Regions from separate parts of the Homo sapiens genome. Here region 2 is linked to region 1. The links are contacts of gene promoters, found by promoter capture Hi-C in blood cells and fetal thymus (Javierre and others, 2016). All regions are on one chromosome and are shown on one strand. The core of a region is centred on a gene start or on the middle of the fragment in contact, and the rest is flanking DNA. Distances in the headings are between cores, read along the strand shown.

Region 1 (3,175 bases), core at 300-2,799:
ACATGGCCCAGCCAAGGTGAGTTATCAGAACCTAAGAAAGTTATGCATTGCAACGTAAATCCATCAGATAATGAGAAAGGTGACATTTTTAACCAGAAAGCATAATAGATTAGACTGAAATAGACCAACCAACCACATACCATGGCGTGACACTTGCTAACATAGTCTTTTTCCAACCTAGAAGAAGGAAAAAAGCATTAGCCTCCCATAGCCTGCACACTGAATTCTCCCCTCACATTCACCCCTTTTTATCATTCCTGGCAAATCAGTCTGCCTGTGGCTCAGTGCAAGCCAGAGCAGCTGGCCTTAGGACCTGACTTCCAACACAACACACGGAGCAACTGACTGACTCTCCTGGGAAAATAAGGAGCAGAAAAAAAAAAATTATGTGTTCACTGTGCAAATTAAGATGCTACATAAAGATGTAAACAAAAAAGAATAAAATTACTCTGTAATCTTACCAGCCATCAATAACCACAGTTGAAATTAATAATTTAGAGTATATAGTTCGGATTTTTTTTCATCCATAACAAAATGGCACATATTTAGGAGATATAAGAATTTATTATAAAGTAGGATCATTGTAAACATTCCATATTGCACCCTGATTATTTTTTTCCATGAATTTACCCGGAACATTTATTTTCCTATGAGCTGAGACATGTTTACAATATTTTAGAAGCAGCGGGCAGGACACACCAATTTGTCTGGCTTGGTTCAGACTAAATAGGCTGCATCTAATGTAATGCTGTGTAACGGTTACAATGATGATGTAGGGGTACTCCAGTAGCATTGCTTAGGCCTCTGGGCAGCTATAGGGTTCAAAGCCTTCCTTCCCTGCTGGGGCTCCCTTTGGCCAGAACCCAACCCCCCTCCCCCCTCCCCCACCACGAAGTATCTATCCCCAGAGAACTTCCACCTTCTCCAACCATTAGCAGTTAGGAAGGGGTGAAGAGGTTAGGAAAAGGTTTTGGAGGTGCACAGCAGAAGCCCTCAGTCTCTCTGGGTAACACACTCCTGCCTAAGTTTCCAACCAGGGATCTCCTGCACCTCCAAACTCCCCAGATCCCAGGCCTGGTAAGCTGTCTCCACTAACCAGAGAGACTCGGCCATAAGACCCACTGATCAGCCCCAAACCATAAATCCATTCCGCCACATGGACGCCCCTCTTCCCCTCTAGGCAGGGACCTCTGCCCCCCGCCCCCCACGCCCCGCATTTCGGGGCGAGCCTCACCCAGCCTCAAGGTAAGCGGGCGCCACGCCCCACTCCCACCCCTACGATCTCCACTTGGATTCACCCTTCCCATTGGCCCACTTCCTCCTCCAGGCTGGCATTGGTCTCGTCCGCCTCCGCCGCCTTCCTGCCAGTCTACCACTTTCTCACCCAGGGAGGCCTAGAACGCGAGCCACATTCGCCCCCGGCCCTGACCCCAGGCGCGACTGCAGAGCCTCCCGAGCGGGACCGGTCTTCCGAGTGGACGGTTAGGCCACGGGTATTCAAGCGCTGCGAGTTCGCCAGCCTTATTGTAGCGGCCAGGCCTGAAGGGCTAGGCCACCGCTGAACTACATTTCCCAGCAGGCAACGCGGCCGCAGTTTCGCTTCCAAAAGTAAGAATGATGAGACGAGAACGCGAGCGGGGCTGCAGTGTCTTCTGGGATTTGTAGTTCGGGCCGGGAGCCTGGCGAGAAACGGGAGCTGCAACGTCATGGGCGGGGCGAAAGTGGTGCACCCTGGAAGTTGTAGTTCTCCAGAGGTTTAGCCAAACACTAGGTCCTGAAAGCCTAGGACGTTGAGGTTTCCAAACCCGGAGTCGGCTGTCTCCAGAGGACATCCCAGACAGCCATACTAACTTGGCAGCTCTTAATAAAAAGTATCTCCCCGGGGCATCCATTCCTGGTATTGCTATACTTGCCATTTAAGCCCCACCCGCTGCGCCCGGCTGCCATCATCGTCATCATTGTAGTCATCAGTCATTGTGTTTAGCATAAATATGAGTTACCTCATTTAACCGCACTACAACCTATGGAACACATTCTTGTCCCCCTTTTACAGAGGGGGAAACTAAGACAGCTATTTGATAATATTTCTCAAGGCTTTATTAAGCTAGCTTGTGATTCTGATTCCATAGCCCCTCCTCTTGAGAGAAGATTAGTCATGAGACTTAAAGAGTCACTTTACCCCATCCTGAGCACCAACATCCTGAGCCATCCTGAGCACCATTGGTGATAAATATAACATTTCTCTATCAGTGTGCATATGAATGTTGCTATTGTTCTATTTTCAAACATGGCTCATTTAAAAACAAACAAGTCTACTAAAGGATTTGAAAAAATGGACCAGACATGCTAAGAAAAAGGAAGCACAGCAATGTGTGTAGTTTGATTTTTTTTTTTTTCATCCTTACCTGTACATGTATGTAAACTCATAAAGGTCTGGGAAGGAAACTTAAAAAGTCACCAAACTGTTCAGGAGCAGAGTGGCATGAAATACACTTTTCAGCTTTTTAATCTCTATTTTTCAGAATGATTTGAATTTTCTAAAATAATAATGTAGAATTTGTGTGACTTTTGAAACAATAAATAATCTCCCTTCTTCCTTCCTTCCTTTTTTTTTTTTTTTTTTTTTTTTTTTTTTTTTTTGAGACAGAGTCTCACTCTGTTGCCTAGACTGAGTGTGGTGGTGTAATCTTGGCTCACTTCAGCCTCTGACTCCTGGGTTCAAATGATTCTCCTGCCTCAGCCTCCCAAATAGCTGGGATTATGGGTGCATGCCGCCATGCCTGGCTGATTTTAGTAATTTTAGTAGAGACAGAGTTTTACCATGTTGGCCAGGCTGGTCTCAAACTCCTGACCTCAAGTGATCCACCTGCCTCAGCCTCCCAAAGTGCTGGGATTACAGGTGTGAGCCACTGCGCCCAGCCCATTTGTCTTAAATGACAAAGACATTGCCTGTCTTAGGGGATCTGTGTGAGGTTTAGTAGTAGAAAGTATTCAAATCTCAGCTCTACCCCTTTTATTGACCTGACATACCCAGTGATTGTGCCTCCATTTTCTCATCTGTAAAGTAAATGTAGAAAACAATACCACCTTGGTAAATCTTGTTATTAGAATCAAAGCAAGGTATTATGAGGGGAAGTGCTTAGTGAACTGTGAAATCCCAGAACAGGTAAGAGAG
Region 2 (3,175 bases), core at 268-2,767, 3.1 Mb before region 1:
GAAACTAGATTAGGGGAAGACAGCAGGGCAGCTGCACAGCATAACTTGAGGGGGCGCCATTCACATTGTCATCTGTGAATGATGGTCCTTGGAGTTATGCCTGGTGGGAAGAGTTCATGGTTGGGAAAGGGGGAAACAGCATGAAGATAAGCAGGAAGTGAGGTGAGAGAGGGGAGCCCCTGAGGTTACCTGGGCACAGGCTTCAATATGGTGTTGGATCATAGGGACCCCTGCCACAGGAAACAATGGTTTGGGCACCTCAAAAGACAAAGGTCTGAAGCGAGTTCCTGGGAGAGGAGAGAGGAGAACATTTCGGCCTCCTGCCTTCCTCTGCCCCCATCCCGCCTACCACTCCAGCCCAACCTCCTCCCCCCATTCCCCTGGCACCTCACCCTTTTGAGGGCCTCCAATCAGGATCACCGCTTTGAGCATAATGGTGACTGCTACCTAAACTTCAAATTCCAACAGAGAAATCAAGCTCAGATCTCCTACCCCAACCAAGCCCCAAAACCCAAATAGCAACACTTAGCCCTCTCCCAAGATGTAAACCCAAAGCTCAATATAGTCTCTGCCTGGACCCAACACCTCACAAATCCCACACATCTCAAATCCCAGCAGAGAAATCAAGCTCAGATCTCACACCCCAACCAAACCCCAAACCCCAAATAGCAGCACTTAGCCCTCCCCCAAGATGTAAACCCAAAGCTCAATATAGTCCCTGCCTGGACAGAACCTCACAAATCCCACACATCTCAAATCCCAACCCAGATTCCAGTCGGCCTTCAAACCTCACAGTGATTCCTCCCAAATTCTGAAATTCACACCCCACAATTTGATCTCTAAAAGACTTCCCTCTGGCCATGAACAAATTCTGCAAATTCAGAAACCTGGCAGAGACTCCCTTCTCAGACCCAAACCTCAAAATACTGAAGCCTCAAATTCCCAAAGTGTTGCGTCTTCATTCTAGATATTAAGCCCTGAACCCCAATAGTGAACCCTGAATATTGGACAGCAAACCCTGAGTGAGCCTCAGATATTTAACTTAAATCCTGAACGTAATCCCCAAGTACTGAACTAACACTGATCTGAATTTGAAGAACCCCTAATCCCAGCAAAAATCCTCTATATGCTAAACATGAATCCTAAAACTAACCTCTGTATGTTGAACCCCAAATCAAAAGACAGGTTCCCTTGGCATCTCAAACACTGAACCTATTGACCCCCCTCCAGTCCTAATACGGACGACTGGGTCTAAATCTCTGGATTCGGAGGATTGATTGATTGCTGACCCTCTGAACCCCACAACTGACTCTGTCCAATAAACCCTGGCCTCTCATTGCCAGGGATTGTGGGACCAACACAGGGGCGGGCGCACCGAGGGCCAGCCAGGACCTCGGAGCCCGCTCTCCGTCTAGAGGGTGTCCCCTGCCCCTTACCCCTGCCGCCACCCCTCCACCAGCTCCCTTTACCACTAGCTCCCTTCACTCCAGCTCTGCCGCCCGCTACTGCAAGCTCCTTCCGCGCACGTGTCTTCTCGCAAGTCGCGAGAACTCATTCGCAGGGTCTGCCGGGAATTGTAGTCTGACCCTTTACCCGCTTTCTAACTTTATGGGAGAGGAAAGAGGTGCTGAAGTCCAGGGGTGTGACCAAGGGATCGCGGGGCGGGGTTAAATGCGAAGAAGGGTGGGGCCTGAGAAGCCCAGCCTGGAACTTAAGACTGGGACCCGAGCTGTTGGGGAATCGGCCTCGGGGCAGCAGCCGAAGTGAGGAACTGGGTCCCACAGGAAAACGGGACTAAGGACAGCAGGGGTGTGTGGCCAGCCCTGGAAGGGGCGGGGCCAGGGGCAAACAGCCACAAGGGGCTGGGGCTGGAGGCGCTCAAAAGCGGAGAAGGCGGAGTCCCAGGCCCAGCCGGCGGTACCGCTGGGAAGTGAGGGCGCCTTGGACGGCGAGGGCAACTCTTATCAGTTTGACTGTCTGAAATGCAGCACGGCGCTAGGCGCTCTCCAGACCTCCCTGTGACTCCAACAGGCTGTGACCTTGGCGTGGGGGTCTGGAATACGTGTGGGCGCTGGTGCGGGGGAGAGGGAATGGCGACGCGGAAGAGCAGGACAGACGCGGAGGGTCAGAGAGCAGCTTTATTAAGCAAGCTGGTGGAGGGCTGTGGGTCCCACCACCCCCGGGCTCGGCGCCAGGGCGGAAGGTCCGGGGGTGCCGTTCAGGCCACGTCGACGCGAGCGAAGCTCTGGTCCATGCCCAGGCTGTTCTCCACGTACACCTCGTACTTGCCGCTGTCCTGAGGCGTGGCCCGGCGAATGGTCAGCGTCGTGGTGGTGCTGCCGATCTCGAAGAACACCCTGCGGAAGGGCGGCGGGGAGGAGGGCGGAGCCGTGGTCAGTACACGGGCGCACTGGGCGGGGCTCCTTAGCCAGCTCTGTTCCTCGCTGCCCAGTCCCCGCCCCCGTCACTCCAGCCAGATTTCTGGGCTCAGTCCCACCCAGGTTCCAGCCCCAGGCCCTGGCCGTGCCGCAGGTCCCGGCCCTCGCCTGTCATCCTCCTCGATGTCCTCCCCGTCCTTGGTCCAGCCTACGTCGGGCGCAGGCTCTCCCAGGATCTCCGCAGTCAGCGTCACGGTGGTGCCTTTGCGCGCCTTAGTGTTGTCGGGTCCCTTTTGAATCTTCGTCGGGACTAGCGGAAGGAAAGGGGAGCGAAACCCCGTGAAGGACCCGGAGATGAGGCAGGGCATCACCTCACCGGCTAATACCCGGCACTAAATACAGATGCATTTAAACTCGCAGTGTGACGTTGAGCAAATCATTAGCCTCTCTGGTTTCATCTCCTTGGCTGTTAAAGGGACTTATCCCTGCCTCTCCTACTTCTCGGGGTCGAATAGAGGATCAAGAGAGATAAGGCGGGCGAAAGCCCCTGAATGTTCACACATCTCGCGGTGCCTCAGAGACCGCTCCGGGTAGTGGAAATTGCCAGAGTTGGGAGCCAGAAGACCCGGGTCCAACCCTGGCTCTGCCTCTGGCTTGCTGTGTGACCTTGGGGACCCGGAGCCGCGTGATGGAAGTCCACAGCTGACTGCTCAGCCCGGGTGGAGCTGGATCCCGAGGTAGGGAAGGACGCACTTGGCTGGCGCGGCGATGCGCCCCAGGCCGTGCCCAGAGCTGGG

What was found. Contacts are between HindIII fragments. The CHiCAGO score rates a contact against its expected background, and 5 or more counts as called.
Region 2: a contact is called between the fragment with the promoter of GMPPA here and the fragment with the promoter of SMARCAL1 in region 1, in 1 of 17 cell types (neutrophils). The highest score is 8.0, in neutrophils.

Annotation. Positions count from the first base shown.
Region 1 is chr2:216,410,858-216,414,032 of GRCh38, reverse strand. It overlaps SMARCAL1 (SNF2 related chromatin remodeling annealing helicase 1), which reads right to left and starts at 1,549. Exons shown (of 18, transcript NM_014140.4): 1 at 1,385-1,549; 2 at 141-177. SMARCAL1-AS1 (SMARCAL1 antisense RNA 1) reads left to right here and starts at 1,533. Exons shown (of 5, transcript XR_001739881.1): 1 at 1,533-1,608. RefSeq lists enhancers at 1,440-1,529, 1,660-1,749, 1,493-1,787. The HindIII fragment of the contact is 8,553 bases long and covers 1-3,175 here.
Region 2 is chr2:219,497,233-219,500,407 of GRCh38, reverse strand. It overlaps GMPPA (GDP-mannose pyrophosphorylase A), which reads right to left and starts at 1,517. Exons shown (of 13, transcript NM_013335.4): 1 at 1,470-1,517; 2 at 393-452; 3 at 190-287. The coding sequence starts at 432. It overlaps SPEGNB (SPEG neighbor), which reads right to left. Exons shown (of 5, transcript NM_001286811.2): 4 at 2,547-2,688; 5 at 2,121-2,357. The coding sequence ends at 2,219. The region is part of intron 1 of ASIC4-AS1 (ASIC4 antisense RNA 1); the gene reads left to right. RefSeq lists enhancers at 1,448-1,637, 1,642-2,459, 2,460-3,175 and a silencer at 2,468-2,547. The HindIII fragment of the contact is 29,233 bases long and covers 1-3,175 here.